2 separate regions of the Homo sapiens genome follow, and region 1 is linked to region 2. The links are contacts of gene promoters, found by promoter capture Hi-C in blood cells and fetal thymus (Javierre and others, 2016). All regions are on one chromosome and are shown on one strand. Each heading gives the region's core, a stretch centred on a gene start or on the middle of the fragment in contact. The rest is flanking DNA. Distances are from core to core; before and after follow the strand shown. Region 1 has its middle 45 kb from the start of LINC02129. Region 2 holds the start of IL21R (interleukin 21 receptor).

Region 1 (5,967 bases), core at 3,192-5,691, 270 kb after region 2:
CCCCTGGACACAGAGACTTCATCAAAAACATGATTACAGGGACATCTCAGGCTGACTGTGCTGTCCTGATTGTTGCTGCTGGTGTTGGTGAATTTGAAGCTGGTATTTCCAAGTATGGGCAGACCTGTGAGCATGCCCGCTGGCTTACACACTAGGTGTGAAACAACTAATTGTTGGTGTTCACAAAATGGATTCCACCGAGCCACCCTATGGCCAGAAGAGATACAAGGAAATCGTTAAGGAAGTCAGCACTTACATTAAGAAAATTTGGCAGGACACAGTGGCTCATGCCTGTAATCCCAGTACTTTGGGAGGCTGAAGCGGGTGGATCACCTGAGGTCAGGAGTTCGAGACCCATCTGGCCAACATGGTGAAACCCAGTCTCTACTAATAATACAAAAATTAGCTGGGCGTGGTGGCATACACCTGTAATCCCAGGTACTCAGGAAGCTGAGGCGGGAGAATTGCTTCAACCCAGGAGGTGGAGGTTGCAGTGAGTCAAGATTGCACCATTGCACTCTAGCCTGGGCCACAAGAGTGAAACTCCATCTCAAAAAAAAAAAAAAAAAAAAATTGGCTACAACTCTGACACAGCAGCATTTGTGCCAATTTCTGGTTGGAATGGTGACAACATGCTGGAGTCAAGTGCTAATATGCCTTGGTTCAAGGGATGGAAAGCAACCTGTAAGGATGGCAATGCCAGTGGAACCACACTGCTTGAGGTTCTTGACTGCATCCTACCACCAACTTGTCTAATTGACAAGCCCTTGCGCCTGCCTTTCCAGGATGTCTACAAAATTGGTGGTATTGGTACTGTTCCTGTTGGCCGAATGGACACTGGTGTTCTCAAACCCAGCATGGAGGTCACCTTTGCTCTTGTCAGTGTTACAACTGAAGTAAATTGTGTTGAAAAGCACCATGAAGCTTTGAGTGAAGCTCTTCCTGGGCACAATGTGGGCTTCAATGTCAAGAACATGTCCGTCAAGGAGATTCGTCATAGCAACGATGCTGGTGACAGCAAAAAGAAAACCCACAAATGGAAGCAGCTGGCTTCCCCGCTTAGGTGATTATCCTGAACCACCCAGGCCAAATAAGTGTGGACTATGCCCCTGTACTGGACTGCCACACGGCTCATATTGCCTGCAAGTTTGCTAAGCTGAAGGAAAAGATTGATCTCCATTCTGGTAAAAATCTGGAAGACGGCCCTAAATTCTTGAAATCTGGTGATGCTGCCATCGTTGATATGGTTCCTAGAAAGCTCATGTGTATTGAGAGCTTCTCAGACTATTCACCTCTGGGTCGCTTTGCTATTCGTGATATGAGACAGACAGTTGCTGTGGGTGTCATCAAATCAGTGGACAAGAAGGCTGCTGAAGCTGGCAAGGTCACCAAGTCTGCCCAGAAAGCTCAGAAGGCTAAATGAATATTATCCCTAATACCTGCTACCCTGGTCTTAATTGGTGGAAGAACAGTCTCAGAACTGTTTGTTTCAATTGCCCATTTAAGTTTAATGGTAAAAGACTGGTTAATGATAACAATGCATCATAAAACCTTCAGAAGGAAAGGAGAATGTTTTGTGGACCACTTTGATTTTTTGTTTTGTTTTGTTTTTTCGTGTGGCAGTTTTAAATTATTAGTTTTTAAAATCAGTACTTTTCAATGGAAGCAACTTGACCAAAAATCTGTCACAGAATTTTGAGACCCATTAAAACAAAATTTAATGAGAAAAAACACACATTATTACTAGACCCCAAAATGATCACAAATCAAATCATTGCATGGATTCCATTCTGGTTGTCAGGGAGATGATCCAGAATGTGCTAGTATTTGTGAACACACTAAAATTTTAATAAGTTATTGCTGAGCACTTATAAATCCCTAAGTGTAATCTGCAAACTTTCAGGGAGACTTTAATGATAGTTTTAGACTCTTCAAGACAAGATCTGTCTTCTAGCATGCTCCAGCTTTGCCTTGTCTCTGGCCCTTTCCTGTTCCTTGCAGCAGCCTGAATTAGTTCATTTTCATACTGCTATGAAGAAATACCTGAGACTGGGTAATTTATAAAGAAAAAGTGGTTTAATGAACTCACATTTCCACATGGCTGGGGAAGCCTCACAATCGTGGTGGAAGGGGAAGGAGGAGCAAAGGCACATCTTACATGGCAGCAGGCATGAGGGTGTGTGCAGGAGAACTAGCTGCCCTTTATAAAACCATCAGATCTTGTGAGACTTATTCACTACCATGAGAACAGCATGGGAAAACCAGCCCTCATCATTCAATTTCCTCCCACTGGGTCCCTCCCACTACACATGGGATTATGGAAGCTACAACTCAATATGCGATTTGGGTTGGGACACAGCCAAACCATATCACAGACTTATAATCAAATGAACAATTGTAAAATTGTTCATTTACATGCTTGAGAGTCTGGACTTTATTTTTTTGATGTTTAGTACAGAGATGGATACCAATTAGGAACTGAGTATATTTAACAAATAACTTCAATTTTTCCTTTTATACCAAAGTTGTATATGTTTACACCCCTAATTCTATGGGAAAATTGGGCCAGTTTCACTCTTGGATGGAGCCAGCTGGTAAAGTTGGAGGTGAGGGAGTCTTTTTCAGGGACCCTGGAGTGTGCCCAGAATTTGTTTCCTGGGAAGAGTGGAGTGGTTCAGTGATGTTTCTGGAGAGTAGGAGTGAGGATGAGACTCCACCAGTCCCATTGGGCAGGGAGCTTCCTTCCTGGAAAAATGTCCTCTTTATGCTGAATCCCATCAGAGACTCCTGCTGTACAGTGATTCAGGGAAAGGTACCGCCTCTCTCTTTGTGCCTCCGTTTGACTAAAATGGGGGAAATGATACCACAGAGGCCTCATGGGACTGTGGAGAAGAGTAAATGAGCTGATATATGTAAACATGCCCAGCGTGGTGCCTGCCATCACAGATGTTCAAGAAACACAAGTTTTCTGTCTCCCTTTGCCCATTGTGTTTGAGAACACAAAGCCCTTAGTTAATGGAAGCACTAGTTGGGGAGCGGGAAATCTGAGTTCTAGTCCTGGTTCTACCATGGTGTGACTTTGGGCATATCATCTTCCCTTTCTGAACCTCCATTAAAAAAAATCGATAATGTGGGGATGAATGATAATGCTATCTACCTCACAGAATTTCAGATGGGATTACATTAAATACAGTGGTGTTTGAGTAAGAGACAATCATGGTCTCTGGCAAGTGACAACAACAATAAAAACTGAAAAAATGGCTGGATGTGGTGGCTTATGCCTGTAATACCAGCACTTTGGGAGGCCAAGGCAGATGGATCACTTGAGGTCAGGAGTTCGAGACTAGCCTAGCCTACACAGTGAAACCCCATCTCCAGTAATACAAAAAAAAAATAGCCAAGTGAGGTGGTGTGTACCTGTAGTCCTAGCTACTCAGGAGACTGAGGCAGAAAAGCCGCTTGAACCAAGGAGGTGGAGGTTGCAGTGAGCTGAGATCATACCACTGTACTCCAGCCTGGGTGACAGGGCAAGACCTTGTCTCAAAAAATTAAAAAAAAATTTAAAAGGGGAAAAAGTGCTGTTGACTGGAATTATAAAAGGCCAAATATTACTATATTCCTATATACCAGGAATGGTTCTTAGGAACCTAGATCCAGACTCTCATTTATTCCTTGTGTTGGCAGCAAGAACATCTCCACAAACTTGGGGCCTGAATGAGGCAGAGTGCTTTCATTTTCCCTACGAATTGCTTCCGCAACCACCTGCCTTATTAGTAGAATGTTCATCACTTTTCTTGTGGAGTTCTCTGTGCCCTCTTAAATGATCTGTGAACCATACAGGTGTTCTTAGTTCCAAGGGGAATGTCTGCCCATGGTTAACCTACAAGTGGCTAAGGACAGGGGTCTGATTAGTTCACTGCTGCAGTTGCCTCATGTTGCCAGAGGGGTTGCTGTTGAAGAAAGCTTTGCACAGTCTTGTGAATGCTTTGTTCTGTGATTATGTGAGACCCAGTTTCTGGATATCCATTGAGAGAGAATGATCCGACTCCTTCAGTGCTAAGTGTGGCCAAGAGCTACACACATTTGGCCCCAGAGTTACATCTCTACAATCAATTCTATCAGTTCGCATACACAGTCACTCCTTGGGGTATAAGCAGGAACCAGGAACACTGATTTGGGGTCAGGTCCAAAGTGTGACTACTCAAAAATGCTTACAGCAACTATACTTCCTGCCTCTCCTGTGACTTAATTGTTAGACAATTAGACAGCAATTATTTGACTCATTCAAACCCAAAAACTCTTGTTATATTCATCTTGAAGGAAGTCCTGGGCCACTTGAAGCAGGCTACCCTTGGTGGCTACAAAATGTCATCTGTTCCCAGTTGTGCTATGTTATAGTTTACAGAATCTTTTAATAAAATCGAGGGAAGAATCTGCAAGTTTGACATTCTATAGGACAGTCCTATTATCCTCCCAAGAATGGAGCAGAGGTCACTGTACTGTGCTCACAAGTCTAAAAATGTGGTCTGGAGATACTGTAGGAAGAGTAGAGGTGTTAGAAACAGACAGAAAGTGTTCAAATCTGTGGTGGAAATTAGTCGTGTTTACTCACCCAGTGTCTTATTGCTCCTTCAGCTCTCATGGGAACCTCAATTTTCTTTTCGTGAATTATCTCTTCCTCGCTCTCAGTCTCAGTTTGGGTGGGACTGGTCCTACCTTTGTTCTCAAGGGGTGGGAATCTGAACCAGGCCTGGCCAATGAAAGGACTGAAACTCCCTGGCTACAATTATTGGTTCACGGATCAGCACATGACCCAAGTTGGGCCAATGAAAGGCTGACTTGATATTTTTGCTAGAATGGTGGGAAAAGAAGCACTTCCTTTCTTTGGGGGAACACTAAGCTGATGGGATGTAAGCTTAAAGCTGCTAGGATTCTATGTTAGCCACCAGGTAGAGAATGCCTGATTGAAAATGAAGTCAACTTTGTGGAAAGAAGAGCCAAGTGATAGAGACTGAGAGATTCTACATGATGTTGAGCCCCTGGATCCAACTGTGCCTGAAACTAGAACTACAGATGGTCTGTCATGAACCAGAACATACCCATTTCCTAGTTAAGTCAGTTTGATTGTGTGGGGTTTTGGTCATTTGCCATAACACAGTATGCAATTAATCCCCTGAGGATCAGTATAAGTGGGTGCTCAGCAGAGCAAGATGTTAAACAAAAGACAGACAGACAGACAGGCAAACAGGCAGACAGATGTTCTCTGATGATTAGGCACTTCTTTCCACCTCTTTTCAGAGCAGAGCCACCCCACCCCTCCTCACTGGATGCTTTGCTTGTGTCTGGCACAGCCAGGGCAGGGTGCCAGTACCAGGCAGGCTGCAAATATTACAAAACGTCTGGGGAAAACGGCATTGTTTCCATTTATGTTTTTGCTTCCCCTCTTGTCTCCTGCATTTTTGCTTTTATTTAAGGCTGTGTTCAATGTTGTAATTACTTTTTTAATCGGTAATGTCTGTGTCTGGGGTGTGTGGTTACCCACCATTGCTGGGCCTGACACTGTAAACAAATGCTGGCACTTTGGCTGGGAAGTTCCTGCTGAAATATTGCCCTAAATAAATAAAAGGCAAATTAGATATTGGAAAATAACTTTAAATTACATTTGAATTCTTGGGGAATTACATCTTACATTTGTGTTAGGGACAAATGAGTTTGCCATAAATAATACGTCTAGAACAATTGACCAAGGAGGACAGCGGTGTTGGACAGTTTCTGGGAGGAGGGACGGGAATAGATCTTTCAAAGGGAAGTTGGGGGTGAAACAGAGGGGACTTCTTAAGGGATGGTCATGGGAATGGGGTGCAGAGAAGTGTAAATCTTAAGAAACCTTGGGTATATCTGCTGGATATGCCAAAGAGATTGGTACTCTTGAAAGGAAAGCCATTAGGTTGATTAACTGGGTTGTTC
Region 2 (6,656 bases), core at 1-2,500:
CCTCCTGGCTTTGAATGTCCCGCACCTGGTCTTCTGCCTTCACTGAGCAGAGACGTCATTCCTGCGGCAAGTCCTAAGTTCCCGCTCCCCAGGGCTCCTCCACCAGGAATGTTCTTCCTTTCCCATCCTTCAAGGCTCAGCCTCCACTGACCTCCCCACCCTCCTCTCCTCCACATGCACAGGGAACTGGGTTGGCCTCTTACCATCCGACCCGTTCCCCGTGCTTCATGAGAAAGATGCAGCGACAGCTCATGGGGTCACCTGGCTTGACTGCCCGACCTGCTACGTCCCAGTTGAGTCACCGAGGGAAAATCACTCTACCTCTCGCAGCCTCATTGCCTCATCTGCGAAATGGGCACACCAGCCATTGTTTTGAATGACTGGGTGGAATCAAGGTGGTAAGACATAGAAACTGACACAGAATGGGTCCCATCAGGCTCTACACCCATGCCCGTCACCTCCCGACTCAGCCGCCCAGAATCGGGTGATTGACATGTTATGTTTGGCTTGAAACTGGCTTTCCTTCCCCAGCCCGCTACATTTTGGAGGCTGGTTTTCAAGATAGAGGGTCGTCTCAGCCACATCCCTGCTGCTGGGCCCCTAAGCTGTGCTGAACAAGAGACCCCAACCTCATTTCTGCCCAGCCTCACTGCATGAATCTTCTTTGCCTCAGTGTCCCCAATTGTGACTTGGGCACAGTCCTCCGAGCCCTCCCACTGTGACACTAGATGCAGCAGGCAGGGAACAGTCCCTCCTGGGCAGAGAAGGCACCCTGGTCCCAGCAGAAAACCAGGGCTGGAATTACCTTCTGTTTCGGCTTCTTTCTCAGAAATCCATTCCGTGTGCTGGGGGCAGTCTGATGGGCTTCTGGGGGTGGCAGCTGGGTTCAGCGTGGGGGTGACAGATGAGGGTCTGAGAAAGCAGGCAGAGGCCTGGGGTGAGAATCCACACCCAGCCCGAGTCACCAATCAGGCTGTCATAAGACCTGTCACTCTGATGACGGGCAGCTGGGCCTCCAGGCAGGTGTCCCACAGAGCAGCAGACAGAGGAAAGAGACGGCAAGGAAGGTACCAGGCGGCCGCAGCAGGGATGCACGGGCCGCAGACAGACAGACACAGCTGCGTGGCTGTCAGCCACACTCAGGGAGAGGCAGGCAGAGGGCCAGACGCCGAGCTTACGGTCACTCAGCAGAGAGACGCCAGTGGGTCTGTCTGAGGCCGCTGGCTGCCACCCAGCCGCATGTGCAGAGTGGGGAGGAAGAGGAGGATGTGGTGAGCCGCTCCCCGCCAGCCCCGCCCACCCGCAGCTGGGCTCCTCCTGGGAGGGAGTGAGAAAGAGGTGGGAGGGGGCCTGGCCCCACAGCAGGCACCCACTGTCACCAAAGGTCACCTGCAAGTAAGACATTTGGGGCCATCGGGGTGACACTTCCCTCTTAGGGACCTGTGACATCATCCCCACAGGCCTCTCAGTCATAACCCATGAGGCAGGCAGTGCCTCCTGGAGCCACCACATTGCACAGATATGGAAACTGAGGCCAGAGGTGTGAAGATGTGGCACAGTTTCACCCGTGGACCCAGAGTCCTCAGTGGCCGACTCCAGCCCCTCAGCACAGAGAGAAGGACCAGAACCTTGCCCAAGGTCCCACGGAAGCCCCTTTTTCAGACTTTGCAAACCAGCCTGTTTCTTATTCCTGAGCCTTACCTGCCTAATAGGGTCTGAGCTTGGGACCCTCTGCTCTGGCTTGACCCCCATGCCTCTCTGCCTCCATTTCCTTTGGATCCAGTCTCCTGCTGCAGAGCTCCAGGGAGCAGGACCCCTTGGGCACGTCACATCACCTCTCTGAATGCCTCACTTTGCCCATCTGTCAAATGGGGGCACCTAGCTATGAGGAAGAGGGCAGACATTAACACATGAGAATTCAAGAAGAAAATAGAGAAAAGAAATTCTCAAGAGAGTTTTCATCTTGCTAACATGCCAGAGGCCCATGAGAGGGTCAGATGTTTCTGGAAGACATTCAAGAAACCAGGAGACAAAATGTAACAAGCTTAATGCCTAGTGCAGTCTCCAAAGGAGAGCAAGAGAATTGCTACCACCACCACCGCTACCACCACCACCACTACCACTGCCATCACCACCACCTCGAATTACTTTGGTGCCTACATGATCTCACTTTATCCCACAAAGTGTGAGGCAGACAAGATTAGTCCCATTTTACAGATGGAGAGACTGAGGCCCAGAGGAGTGAAACGTCACACAAGCCAAGAAGAATTAGAGCTGGGATTTGAACCTGGGTGTGTTTGATTCCTAAGCTTATACCAGGCTGTGAAAACGGGGCCATACCAGGATGAAATGTCCCACAGTTGGGGGAGGCTATTTTATGCTGTTTTGATAACAAGATGCAATTTGTAGCTCTCCCTGCTGACTCATTTTTGGGAATCAACTTGCTGTTGACTTTCGTGACCACTCCAGAGAAAAAAGAGAAAGCGTCTTGCTATTCTTTCTTTCTTTTTTTTTCTAGCTGTTTTTGAGGAACTTGGTACAAATTCCCCTGTGGTTGATTTGAGGGATCCTGGCCCTGTAGAGCTCTTCCCAGCTACCGAAGTGTGTCGTGTTCTCTGGAGAACGAACCTTGGGAAGACACCAGCTTTTGTTTTTCTTTCTCTTGATCTTCGGGGTGAATTCTCTGATAACATGCACTGAAATTTGTAGTGGTTGAAAGATCAGGAGAAGAGACAGTAAAAAGAGCTAATATTTGCTGAAAGCTCATTGTGTGCCAGGGTTTTAAGGACTTTAAAGATGCACCCTCTCATTTAAACCTCAGAAATACTCGAGAAGGCTGTGTGCAGCGGTGCACACCTATAATTCCATCATTTTGGGAGGCTGAGGTGGGAGGATCGATTGAGGCTAGGAGTTCAAGACCAGTCTGGGCAACATAGCAAGACCCTGTCTCTATAAAAAAATTTAAAAATTAGACAGTCATGGTGGTGCACGCCTGTAGTCCCAGCTACTCTGGAGGCTGAGGTGGGAGGACCACTTGAGCCAAGGAGCTGAAGGCTGCAGTGAGCTATGACTGTAGTGCTGCACTCAAGCCTGGGCAACAGAGCAAGACTCTGTCTTCAAAAATAAAATCCCCAAAATGAAAAAGAATGAGTCTAGAAGATAGTTATCATCATCATCATCATCGTCCCTGTTTTACAGATGAGGAAACTGAGGCTCAGAGAGGTTAAGTGACTTGTCCAAGGTCACACAGCTGATGAGTGCCAGAGTTGGGATTTGAACTCAGTCATTTGGGCTCCAGAGCCCGCACTCTTAACTCACTACACTGCTCTGGGGTGTGTATGAAAACAAGGATATTCAATTTCTCCTCCCTCCCTCCTGCCTGCCTTCTTTATCTACCTGCTTTCTACCCACCCACCTACCTATCCACCCATTCATTCTTCTCTGCACCCACCCACCCAGCCATTCCTTGCTTCCTCCCCCTAATATTTATTGAGCAGGCTCAGAGAGGTTAAGTGACTTGTCCAAAATCACGCAGCTTGGCTACATCCTGGGGCTAGCCCACAGAAATATACACACAGTGACAGCCCCCATGGAGCCTATATTCTAGTAGGGAGAGTTAGACAAAAAGAAGTAACAGACAAACTCAATGTAAACTGTACTAAATGTCATAGAAAACCAATGAGAGATCAAGGTTGTGACATTTGGGGGTACACTAGGTGCTAAGAAGTGCCCAGCCATGGGAAGAACATTATCGGCAGAAGGATCTGCAAGTGCAAAGGCACTGAGGTAGGAAAGAATGTGGCTGGCTCCAGGAACTTGAGAACAGCATGGCGTAATACAGTGAGCAAATGGAGGAATAGTAGAAGGTGAAGGCACGGAAATCACACATCTACACCACATGGGACCTCACGGTTTTGGGTGAGGAAGGTAGATTGTTCCAAAGGAAATGGGAAGTCATCATTGGAGGGTTTCATCTTAAGAGTGGCTTAATCCAGTTTACATTTTCAGTTCAGGCCAGGAGTTGGGGAATGGGTGGGATCAGCAGGGGTCACAGTCCCTTGGTGCTTAAAAAGTAGATGCATTTGGAGCTGCCAGGCCCATGTCCACTGGGGTAAACATGAGTCCCCTCAGAAATAGACATGTGGTCCCTTGAGGGGTTCCTCTGGGTCTGTAAATGTCTCATAAGTATGGCCTCTATACCCTTGGAAGGAAGGTGCCATAGGATCTCAGCGGCCCTCCAACCATGCCTCAGTGCTGATAGCTGGTCAGCGGGGAGGAAGTGGTCACATTTGCATTTCAGCCAAGGGGCCTCCTGGGAAAAAATAATTGACACACCCCCTCCCTCAACCCATTTCCTCTTTTTTATTTTTATTTTAAGAGCTTTATTTAGCTATGTTTTACATAACATAAAATCAAGCCACTGTAAATGTACAGTTCAATGATTTTTAGTGAATTTATCGAATTGTGCAATTATAACCACGATCCAATTTTAAAACAATCCCATCACTCCTGAAAGGTTCCTTGTGCCTGCTTATAGTCAATCTCCATTCCCATTCCCAGGGCCACTCGTCTACTTTATGCCTCTACTGATTTTGCTTTTTTTTTTTCCTAGGCATCTCATATCAATATGTTGTCTTTTGTGTTTAGTTTCTTTCAGCATCGCGTGTTTGGGGTTCAACCACGTTGTAGCGTGTGTTGGCACCACATATCTAAAAATCCATTTTTAGGCCAGGCGCGGTGGCTCATGCCTGTAATCTCAACACTTTGGGAGGCCAAGGTGGGCGGATCACTTGAGATCAGGAGTTCGAGACCAGCTTGGACAACATGGTAAAACCCCGCCTCTACTAAAAAATACAATAATTAGCCTGGTGTGGTTGCACACGCCGGGAGATTGAGACCAGCCTGGCCAACATGGTGAAACCCTGTTCTACTAAAAATACAAAAATTAGTTAGGTATGGTGACGTGCACCTGTAGCCCTAGCTACTCAGGAGGCTGAGGCAGGAGAATTGCTTGAACACGGGAAGTGGAGGTTGCAGTGAGCAGAGCTAGTGCCACTGCCCTCCAGCCTGGGAGACAGAGCGAAACTCCATCTCAAAAAAATAAAAAATAAAAATTGATTTTTATTGCTGAAGAATATTACATTGCATAGATATGCCACATTCATTTATCCTTTCATGAGATGATGGACATTTGGAGTATGTCCACTTTTTCCTTTACTACAAACAAGCATGCTATGAACACTTGCATGCGAGTCTTTGTGTAGACATGCATTTTCAAATCTTTTGGATATATACCCAGAAGGAGACTTGTTGAGTTAAAGGTAGTTTAACTTATTAACTTTTAAATAAGTTTAACTTATTAAGAAACTGACAAACTGTTTTTCACAGCAGCTGCCCTGTATTATATTCCCACCAGCAATGTCTGAAGGTTCCCATTTCTCTACGTCCTTGACAATATGTATTTTCTTTTTTTTTTTTTTCTTTTTTTTTTTTTTTTTGAGATGGAGTCTCGGTCTGTCGCCCAGGCTGGAGTGCAGTGGCGCGATCTCGGCTCACTGCAAGCTCCGCCTCCCGGGTTCACGCCATTCTCCTGCCTCAGCTTCCCGAGTAGCTGGGACTACAGGTGCCTGCCACCACGCCTGGCTAATTTTTTGTATTTTCTTTTGTAGAGACGGGGTTTCACCGTGTTAGCCAGGATGGTCTCGATCTCCTGACCTCGTGATGCGCCCGCCTCGGCCTCCCAAAGTGCTGGGATTACAGGCGTGAGCCACCGCACCCAGCAGACAATATGTATTTTCTGTTGGTTTTTATTATAGCCATCCTAGCGGATGTGAAGTGGTATCTCATTGTGGTTTTGATTTGCATTTCCCTAATGGCTAATGATGGTAAGCATCTTTTCATGTGCTTGGTAGTCATTTGCATATCTTGTTTGGAGTAATGTCTATTGAAGTCCCTTGCCAAATTTTATTTATTTTATTTTTTTTTTAGACAGAGTCTTGATCTGTCTCCCACACTGGAGTGCAGTGGTGTGATCTTGGCTCACTGAAACCTCTACCTCCTGGGTTCAAGCGATTCTTGTGCCTCGGCCTCCCGAGTAGCTGGGCTTACAAACGTGTGCCACCATATCCAGCTAATTTTTGTGTTTTTAGTAGAGACGGGTTTTCACCATGTTGACCAGGCTGGTCTCGAACCCTTAACCTCAGGTGATCCGCCCACCTCAGTCTCCCAAAGTGCTGGGATTACAGGCATAAGCCACCGTGCCCAGCTCCTTGCCAATTTTTAAATTTGATTGTTCATCATTTGTTGTTGAATTTTAAGAGTTCTTTGTATATTCTGGAAACTCACCTTTATCAGATATATGAATTACAAATATTTTTCCCATTCTGTGGCTGTCTTTTCACTTTGTTGATAGTGTGCTTTAATGCAAAAAAAATGAAAAAAAATTGACTATAGATTCATGGGTTTATTTCTGAACTCTAAGTTCAATTCCATTGATCTATATGTCTAGCCTTGTGCCAGGATTATCACACTGTTTTGATTACTGTAGCTCTGCAGTAAGTTTTGTTTTGTTTTGTTTTTGTTTTTGTGTTGTTTTGAGACAGAGTTTCGCTCTTGTTGCCCAGGCTGGAATGCAATGGCACAATCTTGGCTCTGCA

Evidence for each region. Contacts are between HindIII fragments. The CHiCAGO score rates a contact against its expected background, and 5 or more counts as called.
Region 1: a contact is called between a fragment that was not itself captured here and the fragment with the promoter of IL21R in region 2, in 6 of 17 cell types (neutrophils, activated CD4 T cells, naive CD8 T cells and 3 more). The highest score is 10.3, in neutrophils.

The regions. Positions count from the first base shown.
Region 1 is chr16:27,128,939-27,134,905 of GRCh38, reverse strand. It overlaps the pseudogene EEF1A1P38. Among named protein-coding and RNA genes, the nearest start is that of LINC02129, 45 kb to the left of the region's middle. The HindIII fragment of the contact is 952 bases long and covers 3,966-4,917 here.
Region 2 is chr16:27,396,768-27,403,423 of GRCh38, reverse strand. IL21R (interleukin 21 receptor) reads right to left here and starts at 1,250. Exons shown (of 9, transcript NM_181078.3): 1 at 806-1,250. RefSeq lists enhancers at 619-738, 631-1,173. The HindIII fragment of the contact is 2,346 bases long and covers 1-2,046 here.